Linked DNA regions of Homo sapiens: region 2 is linked to region 1. The links are contacts of gene promoters, found by promoter capture Hi-C in blood cells and fetal thymus (Javierre and others, 2016). All regions are on one chromosome and are shown on one strand. Each heading gives the region's core, a stretch centred on a gene start or on the middle of the fragment in contact. The rest is flanking DNA. Distances are from core to core; before and after follow the strand shown.

Region 1 (6,603 bases), core at 975-3,474:
TTTCATCATGTTCGTCAGGCTGGTCTCAAACACCTGACCTCCGGTGATCCACGGGCCTCGGCCTCCCAAAGTGCTAAGATTATAGGCGTGAGCCACCGTGCTCAGCCTGGTTTTAAAGATAATAAAATGAGGATGTGCAACAGGAATATGAAAGGATACCATTAGTAAATGCACAGGCATTACATTTTCTAGACCAAGCCAAAAAAAAAAAATTCAAAGCCATCAAGATTTTTAAACCCCCAAGTATATTTAGTTGCCTCAGGAAAGTATTAAACCTGCAGATCTGACGGTACTATCCTTTCAGGTAACAAGAACACAGTAACTTCATAGAAGAGTTGGTATTATAAGCAAAATTAAAAAAAGAAAACAAACTGTCACCATGTCAGAGAAAACAAAAATACCTCCAGAAATCATGCTTCATGCTTCTCTATGGAGGAAACAGATACACAGCAAACTTTTTCTAAGAACTATTGAACCACGTTTGCTGTTTTTCTGTCATCCTCACTGCCACAAGTGGTTGTGGAAGCAGCATAAGCAAAGGAAAACAAAAAAAGATAAAGAATTCCATTTAACTCTAATCAAGCTGAGAATTTCACCAAAGTTAAACTAATCCTGAGCAATTTCATATTTCCCTGAAAGGACTGTCTACAGCGATACTGATGTTACAAGAACAGAAGCAGAGCCTGAGAAAAGACACTTTAAGATACGATCAATGACAAGAACTTCCTCCATTCACTTTGTATGTTAAAAAAAAAAAAATTCCAAACACTTTCTCAGTTAACCTAACAGCCAACTGTTGGTAACATGCTTCCATTTCTAATCAGGTATCTTTTTGTCTTTCATATCTTCCTATCTGTGCTTAACCTCCCCATCCTTGACCTTTTCTCCGCCTTTTGCATTTTCCCTTCTTACTTTGCTCTTCAGAGCATCGGAACTGCATTCCTACCATGGGGCGGGGGGAGGAGAGAGGGGGAACTCACTCCCGCAATTCTGTAAGTTGTCTTAGACAAGTAAACTTCCATGCGAAGTTTATGATATCCAATCATTTGGAAGTTACTTCCGTGTTAGTGGAGTAACAGAAATAAAACGACAAAGTTAGGACTTCACAGAAGAATTTTCAGCAATACAAAATTAACTTAAAGAATACGATGTCGTGTTCAACTCCTACCAAATAAGGTTAAACTTTTGTTATGGGGAAAATGAGAACCATCAGCCCTGTATACCAAAGAGCAAACGCCAAACGGGAAATTTAAAAATATCAGGATGGTCCATCAGGTGTATGCCTCACAGAATTTAAGAGCTGAACTGATACCATACTTCCGGGGTACAGAACAACTCTCACCCTCATACAAGTAGGAATAGAAAGCAAGTGTAAAATACGGGTCGTCTTCGCCTGTGATCGCACAGTAATACGGGCGTTTTGATCTTTTTTTTTTTTTTTTTTTTTGAGAGGGACTCTCGCTCTGTCGCCCAGGCTGGAGTGCAGTGGCGCGATCTTGGCTCACTGCAAACTCCGCCTCGCGGGTTCAAGCGATTCTCTTGCCTCAGCCTCGGCAGTAGCTGGGACTACAGGCGCGTGCCACCGCGCCCGGGTAATTTTTTTGTATTTTTAATAGAGACAGGGTTTCACCGTGTTAGCCAGGATGGTCTCGATCTCCTGACCTCGTGATCTGCCCGCCTCGGCGTCCCAAAGTGCTGGGATTAAAGGCGTGAGCCACCGCGCCCGGCCCGGCATTTTGATCTTTAGCACAAAATTACTTTTCCCTACCCTGCTTATGCTAACTACAGATTCACCACCTCCCACTCCGAATGTGGCTGCATTTGACGGACGGAAGCAGACATCATTCCTCATCAGTCTAAAAGTACTATGTCGTCAGAAATGAGTCCCGACGCCGACCAGGGAGCTGGCGGTGAAGCGTCGGGCCCCGCGCTGGGACCGCCGGCCGGCGAGCTGGTGCGAATCGAGGCCAGGAACGCGCGCCCCAGCCACCGGCCTCCCCATTCTCGCGTGTAGAACAGCTGCGGGTGTCAGCCCCGGCCGCCCGGCCCAGGCTCGGCAGCGGTCCCTTGCGCTACTAGGACATCCCCCACCCCACCGTGGCGGCACCCGTAGACCGAAGCACACCTGATCTTCTTCACTGATGTCGATGAAGGCCGGGACGCTCATGGTGCAGGCCCGGGCACAGCGGACACTCCACTCGCAAGACCACGCCGACCGGAAAAGGGAACTGGGCCGCGCGACGCTGCTGGCGCAACTGCTTCCGGGTCACCCTGAGCGGCGACCTGTTGGGGCGGGGCCTTGAGAGCCAATCCTATCGCGCGCTCTCGCCGCGGAATGCAGCAGGGCGTGGCAGACGCGCTCGGGCTGGCCTAGTGGGTGGGACTTACTGGGCCTCCACTCAGCGACGCTTGTCGCGGCCTCCAGTTTTCAGGCCCGTGTAGCTAACTGCATTGATGTTGCCTCCCGCTGGCGCCTCCCTAAGTCCACCTTCCCTTGAAATGTTAAGCTTGTTGGGTCTTACCAAGTATGGATGGGTTTGTGTAGACCTGAAACTCTCCTGTACTGCTGTTGGGAACATAAAATGGTGCAGTCACTTTGCAGAGGAGCGGCAGTTTCTGAAAAAGTTCAGTATCCACCCAGCATATGACCCAGCTATTCTTCTACCCAAACTGTATGTCCGTACAAAGACTTGTACAAGAATGTTCATTGCCGCTTTTAAAAAATAGCAGCTTTGGCTGGGCGCAGTGGATCTCACGCCTGTAATCCCAGCACTGTGGGAGGCCGAGGTGGGCGGATCACTTGGGGTCAGGAACTGGAGACCAGCCTGGGCAACATGGCAAAACCCCGTCTCTACTAAAAATACAAAAATTACCGGGGCATAGTGGTGCGCGCCTGTAATCCCAGCTACTCGGGAGGCTGAGGCAGGAGAATCACTTCAACCTGGGAGAAGGAGGTTGCAGTAAGCCCAGATCATGCCACTGCATTCCAGCCTGGGCGACAGAGCGAGACTCCGTCTCATAAAATAAATACACAATTCAGTAGTTTTTAGTATTTTCAGAGTTGCACAACCATCACTACTATTTAATTTTAGAACATTTTCATCACCTACAAAAGAAACTACCCATCAGCAATCACTCCCCAGACCCCCGGCCCCACCTCTCTCCAGCCCCTGGCAAACACTACATTTTGTCTCTATGAATTTGCCTTTTCTGGACATTTCATGTAAGTGGAATCACAAAATACACGGTGGCCTAAGTCAGACTTACTTCATTTAGCATAATGTTTTCAAGGTTCGTCCATGTATCCCTCCTATATTCCTATTTATTGCTTATAATATTGCATTGTTATGGATATACCACATTGTGTTGATTTGTTCATCAGTTGGTGGACACTTGGGTTGTCTCCATTTTTTGGCTATTATGAATAATGTTTCCATGAACGTTAGTGCACAAGATTTTGTGTGTACGTATATTTCTCTTAGGTATGTACCTATGAGAGGAATCAGTGGCTTATTTAGTAAATTTATGTTTAGCTTTTTCAGGAGACAGTTTCCAAAAAGTTAACACTTTATTTTCAATAGCCAAAAAAAAGGAAACAACCCAAATGTTCATCAATAGATGAATGAAGTGGATCAAAAAATTGTTATACATCTGCTTAATGGAATACTGCTGTGCAACAAAAAAGGATGAATTATTGATACATGCAAAAACACAGATGAATCTTTTTTTTTTTTCAGTCTCTTCAGCCTGGGTGACAAAGTGAGTGAGACTCCATCTCTTAAAATAAAAGCTTGATTTTTTTTCTTTAGTTGACAATCCCAAAATAATTCAAAATAATTTTGTTCAGTTAATCATCATACTGTATGATTCCATTTATATAAAACTCTAGAAAGTAGAAACTATAATGACAGCATTATAGATTGCTGTTGCCTGGGGGCAGGGATTGGGTAAGGCGGGGGGAAAGATGGATACAGAGGGGCTTGAGGAAGTTTTTGGGGGTTATGGATGTGTTCATTATTTTGACTGTGATTGTGTCATGATTGTATACATATATAACATTTTTCAAAGTGTGCAGTTCAAAAATGTGCAGTTTATTGATACCACAATTATACTTCAATATAAAATAAATGCCAAGCAAAGGAAAAAAACAAGGTTGAGGGGATAGAGGACACAAAACATCTGGCTAGACTAAATTTGAAAGGATTCATTCTTGCATGGAATAGCCTTAACAATGTGGAAAGTGAAACTGAAGGCAGGGAACCTGTGTCATGTTCACCCTGCATTTCCGCACCCACCTCAGTGCCCAGCCCACAGCAGATCATCAGGAAATACCAGTTGATTCTGAAGGAATAATCCCTGGGCTCCTCCCCTCGCCTTATTATTGCAAAGTTCGAGGAATACAAACTCAACAATACAATACCATTTTATCAAATATTTAAAAGACTTGTCTCTTTTTTACTATTGTTATTTTTTTTTTCATTCTGTGATCCTTGTGAAGTAAAAGAACACCCAGGGAAATTCTTGAGAGAGGATATGGACAGTTATTTAAAACTTTAAACTTTCATTCATTCAAAATAAACACACACACACACACACACACACACACACACACACACACACGATGGAGGTGTGGTAGGCCCGAGTAGTCTTGGGAAATGCAACATTTGAGTAGGAAATGCGGAAATGCCTGTCCTCAGTTATTTAAAACTTTAAACTTTCATTCATTCAAAATAAACACACACACACACACACACACACACACACAGGATGGAGGTGTGGTAGGCCCGAGTAGTCTTGGGAAATGCAACATTTGAGTAGGAAATGCCTGTCCTCACCTAGGTCAGGATGAATCTTGTGAGACAAAGTAGCAAACCTAAGAAGGAATGTTTGCTCATTCTGTTTGCCAGAGAATTTCGCAAAGCCCCTGACTCAGTGAGTGAGGGCAACCCTCTGGAAGAATACCCTAAAGATAAACAGGATAGAGCACAGGTCCCCATTCTCTTGCCTGAATCACTGCAGTTTTAGAAAACATAAGTTCAATGATCCTAGCCTCTGCCTCTTCATGTGCATGGGTATAATGCACACCCATGTCTGACAGCAATAATGATTATGTCTCCATAATCTATAACCAGATGGACCCTGGCACCCAAACCATGATGTGATTTCGCTCTAATGTAACTTCTGAGCACATTTAATGTAACTTCTGAGCACAGGCAGAGCCACCACTGATGTACACAAACTGTGTGCGGAAACACTGCTTTGGAGCAGTTTAACAGAAACTCTCTGGAAGACTCTCTGGGTTGCAATCCTCGGTAAGACCTCTGAATAAAACTAACTTTAATTCTTTAAAAGCTTGGCTGGTGCGGTGGCTCATGCCTGTAATCCCAGCACTTTGGGAGTCCAAGGCAGGTGGATCACTTGAGGCCAGGAGTTCCAGGCCAGTCTGGCCAACATGGTGAAACCCTGTCTCTACTGAAAATACAAAAATTAGCTGGGACCTGGTAGGCTGAGGCAGGAGAATCACTTGAACTCAGGAGGTGGAGGTTGTAGTGAGCTGAGATCACGCCACTGCACTCCAGCTTGGGCGACAGAGTGAGACTCCAAAAAAAAAAAAAAAAAAGGAAAAGGAATCACCAGGGAGTTGAACAAAGCCCCACCATCTGCAAGGCAGTATTATCTTAGTTTAATTTTTACCTGAAAAATACAACCAAATATGTACAGTTTTTCTTTATTGTTTAATTTGTCTATGTTCCCTTTGTTATCTCCTTTCTGATTAAAAATTCCGGAAAATGTGGATTTAACTATGTTTTTAAGTATTCTATTTGCAAGAGCCATATTAATATATTTGCTTGAAATTGTATTATTGGAGCAAAGTTATATTTTTTACAAGAATGCTTTGCATGACAGTAATATCTAAAATTTGTTTTCAAGTCTGTATCAGCATCTCAGAATGAGGCAATTATTCATCTGATAAACGAAAGTATATTTTTATGCTAAAATAGTATATGTGGCCAGGTGCGGTGGCTCATGTCTGTAATCTCAGCACTTTGGGAGGCTGAGGCAGGCAGATCACCTGAGGTCAGGAGTTCGATCAAGACCAGCCTGGCCCCCATCTCCACTAAGAATACAAAAATTAGCTGGGTTTGATGGTGGGTACCTGTAATCCCAGCTACTTGGGAGGCTGAGGCAGGAGAATCGCTTGAACCCGGGAGGGGGAGGTTGCAGTGAGCTGAGATCGCGCCACTGCACTCCAGCATGGACGACAAGAGCAAGACTGTCTCAGAAAAAAAAAAATAGTATATGTAGTTGATTACCTAAATACTAAGACTATGTATAGAGGGTAATCCATTCTAAATAGGTGTCATTTATAGTATATTAGCACATCATACTTTTACTGAGTTGATGAACTATGAGCTCTGAAAAAGTGGGGATGTGTTCATTATTGCATCCCATCCCTTTTTTATCAACGTGCCTGATAGATGGTGCAATAAGTATTTGTTGTATTAGTGAATGATACTCTAAATGTTAACTCGCTAGATAGATTTGCGACAAATCTTTGAAAATTGCTTTAAATTTTAATTTTGAATGAAAAAAATTTTAATT
Region 2 (7,222 bases), core at 4,537-7,036, 670 kb before region 1:
TTGGACATCAGAAAACCAGGACAGCTACAACACGAATATTTATTTTGGCAACAATAAATCAAGTTATTCTGTGTCCTCTAAGAGTTAAGAGTCAGGAATAACAACTTCTGGAAGGATATTTAAATATGGAGAATTTCCTTAGAATATCTTTGAATCTAAATATTACCATGACATCTTTTCATCTCCAAACTTAAATGTGAGGTTCCAATGGGAACTACATTTTTATGCCTTTGAATTAACCACCAATAGTGCAATTCTAATTTACCTTATCATCATACTTGGTAAACTGTTGCTATGAAAATAACATTTAATAAGTTAACTCTCTTACCTGGTAAAATAAAGTTAACTTCAAAAGTTACCAGGATAAGTCGTACTAGCATTCAAATAAAAAATAACATGCAAACAAGCATTCCATGAAATGGATGTGAATCAGGTCTGAAAAATAATATTGCGGCATTCTGAAATTTACATTTTCCCTTTCCTCCTTTCCATATGCTTTCAGGTTCATGCATCAAATATTAAAAACAAAAGTTCAATCAAAAAATTAATTTGATAGCTGCTGCTTTTTTAAGTTGCAGGGGGTGCAGGGAGGCTCTCCATATCTTGCATTAAACATAAAAACCTATGTGCCCACGCCATACTTGCAACAGCAACCTACGTCTGTAATTTACACCCTATTTTATGGTATCCAAAAAGTTAAGAGTATGATCTACAGCTTCTTTTCAAACATGTTTACAAGAAGAAGTATCTCATATAAACCATCCATTTTAATGTGACTCTAAAATCCCATGCCCAAAAGCCAATGACCAGTTTATAAGCAAGGTAATGACTAGTTCAATGGAAAATATATTTTGACAATAAACTAAGTAAGGCTGACTTATCATGTTATGATCTGCTTGCCTAATATGTATGTTTAGCTACTGTAGTCAGCAATGCCCAAATATAAAGTTGAAACATTTAATGGCCAGTTCTGTTCTAGATTTCAAACTCATCTTACTTTTTTACAACAGTTTTAATCTAAGGTTCTCCACAAATACTTTTTTCTTAGAAAAGAGATCCCCTTGGGGCGGGGGGCGGGAGGCAGAGGGGGGGATTAAGGAACAAATTTTTCCATAAGTACAAAAAAAAAAAGACATGCCCAAACATCACAAATATTTCAACACATCTCTGCCTTAACATAAATTTTAAATAAGTAAATTTCAAAAAAGAAAAATCTCAAACAGGTTAAGCATTATAGTTCAGAAATAAAAGTCCTCTACACTTTATGAATGCAGCCATAAATACACCAAGAAATATTTCATTGACTTAAAACTAAATAACTGTATCTGGCTGGTAAAATTGCAATTACTGATAAGTGGCACGAAAGCATAAGATAATCAATAAAACTATGAAAACTTTTTTTACAAAAGGTCAGTCATATTTTGTTTACTTAAAATACTAAGTTTAATCATGACCTATCTAAACCTTATCATTGCTCATTGTATAAAATTAGCACTGCACTTGCAAACATAAGCAGAATCTAGACTTATCAAACATATGGTGAGACTTCACCAGCTTCTGAAAAATTAAATAATATAGGATTAAAATGTCTTAGTTGGGTAAGCAGTAACCACCGTTACGGCTCAAGACTTTTCATCAAAAATTTGATCAGAAAGGAAACCTCTTTAAAAATTTTAAAGAGCCCAGCAACTAAAACTTTGAAATTAACTGAGATGGTTTGAATGAATATAAGTACTCCCACTTCAGAAGCTACAGCTAAAAGCAAATACCTAAAATAGCAAAAAGGGAAAAAGTGTCAGCAGATCTCCAAACTACTAGAAAGTACGCAAAAGCACACGCAGACTGGTTTGCCAGCTAACTTTTCCGGCCCTGTACCAGACAGACATCAAAACAAAGTTTACAATAGAGCCAACCATGCGCTTTCCCTCTAAACTGGACGATAAACTGAAATTTTTTGCTGTTGCTAATAGAAGCCCCTTATTATAATTAGAAGCAGCCAACTGACAGGTGGAAAAACAAATTCCCTAACAGGGCAGTAAGAGGTTGTGAAAACACGGTTCAAGGCCTGAACGTGTTACGACTACTCTGTAACAAGTCCAAGGTAATTTACGCACACACTCTTCAGCGCAATTCCTCAAGCAGAGATGAGACGGGAACAACAGGATTCCCCGAGAGCCACATACCATTTTACAACAGCCGTCTCCCTCCCGACAGAGAAACAGACATTTTCATCCAAAGTCTTTCCGCCAGTTCTCCCAGTGCGGCGAAGGGAAGCGGGCGGCAGCCACCGTAACGAGAGAAGCCGGCAACAGCCCCGCCGCGCGGCCGCCACGCCTTCCTCCCGCCGCCGCTGGGGACGCGGAGCCGCGGATCACATTTCTCCTCCCCAACAATCACACACACGCACGCACGTCCCCAGAGTTGACACCCTGCAAACCCGCTGCTCCGCGACGCTGGGGACGGGGCCACAAAGCCCGGGACGCGGCCATCGGCTGGGGTGCTCAAGCTGCGTGCCTGCGCGTTTGTTTGTTCCCCTTAATGAAAGGAAAGGGATCTCCGTAGTTACGGCCTAGGACTGCGGAGGGGGAAGAGAGGCTCCCCGTGGGACTAAACAAAACTTCGGTTGCTGGGAAGAGCCGTTGCGCAACCTTGGCAGGGGGAGGGGGGGCCGAGGCCCCCGGGCCCCGGCCAGGCGCGGCTTCCCGGAGGCTACGGCCCCCGCGTCCGGCGGCCCAGGGCCTGGCGTGGCGCCGGCTTCGAGGGAGCGGCTCATACCGGGCCACACTGCAGGGGCTAGGGCGGAAACTGGGAGCACGAGAGCGCTGGGGATGCGGATGGGGCACGGGACGCGCAATGAGTGCGGGCTGCGCCGGAGGTGTCGGGCCAGGCCCGGGTCAGGCTTGGGGTCCGCTGGCCGCGGAGCCCGCAGACGGAGCCGATCCCCCCACCCCGGGGTGGCGGCGCCCCTCGCTCGACTCCCTTACCTTCCTAGAGGCCCGCGCTCTCTCCTCTTCGGGCGGCCGCAGCCCTGAGCATGTCCGGGGTGGGGCGCAGGGCCGTGCCGGGGACCGGGAGCCAGGCGCTTCAGCAGGCGGCACCACCCAGCCCGGGCTCAGCCCCTCTCCGCGGCCGCTGCCATCTTGTCCTGGCGGCTGAGAGGAAACGGCGAAACACCCTCCCCCGACCGCTGCTGCTGCTGCTGCTGCTCTGGCTGCTAAGCGCCGGGCCCGTCTCCCTCATCTTCCTTCCCGGGGATTTGGGGTGGGGACGGCTTGGCTAGGGCGAGGGGTAGTGGGAGGCCGGTCGGCCTCCGGCTACTGGGGCCTACGGGCGACGCAGGGTGCGGGGCCCACGGCGATTGGGGCCCATTCCTGACGCCCCGGCCGGGAGCGGAGAAGGAAGACTGGCGGGAGTGGTGGCGACGGCGGGGCCTGCGGCTTGATCTCCTCAGGTCGCCGCGATGCCGGCAGTCGTCACTGAGGCAGCTGCCACCAGCCGCCCCAGCCTCGGGCCCCTCCTCCGCGCTCGTCGGCCTCGGCCACCGCCTCCGCAGCGCCACCGCCCGCCCGGCAGCGCTGCGCGCCCAGCCCGGGCGGCTCCGCTCCGCTCCGGCCGCGGCGCCTCCGTGAAGCCCCTCCCCGGGGTCCGCCCGCCAGTCCGCAGCCGCGCCCTTGTTGCCCGGAGCCCGCCTGCCAGCCCGTGCGGCCCCAACCCGGAGTCCCGCAAGCCAAGCCTCCCGCGAAAGAAGCATCCGTCAGCCCGGCTCTGCTGTTCTGAACCTCACTCCATGCCCCCTCCGCCAGAAATACACATTTTTAAAAAAGATCCCAATACCCGAAGAAAGGATGAAGATGCGGAAGCAGGATTTTACAGGCCTTTCGAGATCCCGGAACCGTAATTAAGGATCTGTTTCTCGGCATTTGGTCGTTAAAGGTCCCAAAATAAGTAAAGGGGAAATGCTCAAATGAACGACCTCAATCTAAACTAGGTTCTACCCGCTCCCCTATCCCAAAGAGTGAAGAGAATTGTAAAGCCAGGTTCAAGGACGGGGGAAGGGTCCTCTTGGAAATTTTAAGAGCATCTCTACTGTCCAAAACCCCATAATTGTGAAGTTCGCCCACCTCCACATTGGTAATTCTCCGTTAAATTAGTCGGTTTAACTCCCAAAGACTAGTTTCTTTCCTCCTGGAGATTAGGAAATCAACAGAATGGCCTGTTTCAGCTTACATAATCGTGGAACCATAGAATTTTAGGAATGAAAGAAGCTTTGCGATCCTTGGTCCCAACTCTTACACTCAGGAGTTCCAAGAAGTTTAGGTGACATGACCAAGGTTATACAGTAAAGCCCATGTCTCCCACCCCATCTTTCCTCCTTTTCCCTAGGAAACAAATGGCTTTCTAATACCTCACATTCAGAGTTGATTTTCTTTTATACCCGTTTCCTCAGGTTCCCTTTGTTCTGAATCAATGTCTAACCTTTTGGGAAACAAACACCTTTCTGGAATGGAAGTGTCCTTTCTTTGTTTCCTTCATAATCTTCACTAGCAAGATTGAATTTACCAGAGATGTATTTATTCCCAGAAATTTTCTATTGCAGTAACTGGGGCAGGGCAAAGGGAGTGGCAAATTGCTGCATACATAATACACATTTAATCCCTGCTGCTCTTCAAACCGGAAGATGAGTATTTTGGATAATGCCTTTAAGAGACAAAGGAGGCCGGGCGCGGTGGCTCGCACATGTAATCCCAGCACTTTGGGAGGCTGAGGCGGGTGGATCACCTGTGGTCAGGAGTTCAAGACCAGCCTGGCCAACATAGTGAAACCTGGTCTCTACTAAAAATGCAAAAATTAGCTGGGCGTGGTGGCGGGCGCCTGTAATCCCAGCTACTCGAGAGCTGAGGTAAGAGAATCGCTTGAATCGCTTGAGCCACTGCACTCCAACCTGGGCGACAGGGAGAGACTCTGTCTCAAAAAATAAAATAAAAGAGAAAGGATAGTATGCCCTGAGGCCACTGGAAATAACACTTTCGAATGACAGTTGTTTTCAGGTTAGAGAGGATAACCAGCTGAAAAGGCTTCCAATATAGAAGAACAAAACAATGGCTGCCTTTCAGAGAGATAGCCTATGAACCATTCCTTTTCACTTAGTATTTCGTTACTTTTTATTTTTCTTAAGAACAATAGTCAAAAGAATCAAAGAGGATAAAATCATTTACTCAACGGAGAAAGCTACAATAGTAGAAAAATCTGTCAGGAGGAACAGAGAAACTATTCCACTAGAACTTCAAATTTCAGAATTTTTGCAGACATTTAAGGAGGCCATCTCTAATGGAAGGCTTCCATTCCCTGTATTTGCTACATCCATGAAGAGATGGAAATGAGAGACAAGGATTTATTTTCCTTTCTATCTCCTGCATGTTGCTACTCACTACACTATATATTCCAGGAGGGGATTCATTCATCTTTTTTTTTTTTTAGATGAAGTCTCGCTCTATTGCCAGGGTTCAAGCAATTCTCCTGCTTCAGCCTCCCGAATAGCTGAGACTACAGGCATGCCCCACCATACCCAGCTAATTTTTGTACTTTTAGCAGAGACGGGGTTTTACCATGTTGGCCAGGATGGTCTCGATCCCTTGACCTCGTGCTCTGTCCACCTCAGCCTCCCAAAGTGTTGGGATTACAGGCATGAGCCACCACGCCCGGCCTCATCTTTTTTTTTAACCATTATATTGCAAGTGCCTAATACAGTGCCTGACTTGTGGTAAGACCTTAGTAAATGTTGCAAAATAAGTAAATGATATATTCCAGCCCCCCTTCACTTTATACCTATTGTCTCCTAACCTAATTTCTTTACCTCTAATCTCTTCCCCTTCAAATCTTTCTTTTTTTGAGGCACGATATCAGCTCCTCTGCCTCCCAGGTTCAGGCGATTCTCCTGCCTCAGCCTCCCAAGTAGCTGGGACTGCAACTTCCGCCTCCCAGGTTCAGGCGATTCTCCTGCCTCAGCCTCCCAAGTAGCTGGGACTACAGGCCCGTGCCACCACGCCCAGCTAATTTTTTGTATTTGTAGTAGAGATGGGGTTTCACCATGTTAGCCAGGATGGTCTTGATCTCCTGACCTGACAGAGTCTAATTTTGTCACCCAGGCTGGAGCACAGTGGTGTGATCTCCATTCACCACAGCCTCAACTCCCTGGGCTCAAGGGATCCATCCACCTCAGCCTCCCACCTAACTGGGATTACAGACACGCACCACCACAGCCAGCTATTTTTTTTTTATTTTTAGTATGGAGATGCGGTTTCATTATGTTGGCCAGACTGGTCTGGAACTCCTGGCCTCAAGTGATCCGCCCACCTCAGCCTCCCAAAAGTGCTGGGATTTCAGGTGTGAGCCACTGCGCCTGGCTTTCAAATCTATTCTGAACACAAACATCTAGATAATCTCCCAAAGCCCCTAATGTAGCTATTTTACAAAGTTTGAGGGTTGTTTTTTTTTTTTAAGGAAAATTTCTCATAGTGCTAAGATCTCTCAAAAATGCAGGCTGGGGGAGGGCATGGTAGCTCACATCTGTAATCCCAGCACTTTGGGAAGCTGAGGTTGGGGGATTGCTTGAGCCCATGAGTTCCAGGCTGCAGTGAGCTGTGATTTCGCCACTGCACTCCAGGCTAAGTGACAGAGCAAGATCTTGCCTCTAAAAAATAAAACAGGAAGATACTAAAGAAAACCTTAATGTTTTCATTCAAAAAAATTACTTAAGGGCCAGACTTGGTGGCTCACACCTGTAATTCTATCACTGAGCAAGACCTAGCCTCTTCAAAAACCCCTCTCTCTCTACAAAAAATACAAAAACTAGCCTGGCCTGGTGGTGCACGCCTGTAGTCCCAGCTACTCGGGAGGCTGAGATGGGCCCTGAGGCTGCAGTGAGTTGTGATCACACCACTGCACTCCAGCCTGGGCGACAGAGTAAGACCCTGTCTCTGAGTAAGTAAGTAAGTAAATAAACAAATAAAATCCTTCACAGAACTAGCCCACAAGGAACTCAATCAACTTTTTGTCTCCTTACTCCAGCCACTCTCTGGAGCTCCGTAGGTGCCTGGATCACCTTCTGCCTGAAACATTCCTCAAGTATAGCCATCCACCTTTCTTTCCTGTCCTTACTCAAATATTGCCTTCATGGTGAAGCCTCCTCTTCAGCGATGACCACCTATATTTACATTCCCTG

What was found. Contacts are between HindIII fragments. The CHiCAGO score rates a contact against its expected background, and 5 or more counts as called.
Region 2: a contact is called between a fragment that was not itself captured here and the fragment with the promoter of EIF3M in region 1, in 3 of 17 cell types (non-activated CD4 T cells, total CD4 T cells and activated CD4 T cells). The highest score is 5.6, in non-activated CD4 T cells.

The regions. Positions count from the first base shown.
Region 1 is chr11:32,579,452-32,586,054 of GRCh38, reverse strand. It overlaps EIF3M (eukaryotic translation initiation factor 3 subunit M), which reads right to left and starts at 2,224. Exons shown (of 11, transcript NM_006360.6): 1 at 2,126-2,224. The coding sequence starts at 2,167. RefSeq lists enhancers at 2,069-2,218, 1,861-2,513 and a silencer at 2,379-2,438. The HindIII fragment of the contact is 5,112 bases long and covers 1-2,509 here.
Region 2 is chr11:33,253,652-33,260,873 of GRCh38, reverse strand. HIPK3 (homeodomain interacting protein kinase 3) reads right to left here and starts at 3,493. Exons shown (of 17, transcript NM_005734.5): 1 at 2,985-3,493. RefSeq lists enhancers at 2,019-2,108, 2,149-2,198 and silencers at 2,539-2,738, 2,809-3,148, 3,409-3,738. The HindIII fragment of the contact is 3,038 bases long and covers 4,268-7,222 here.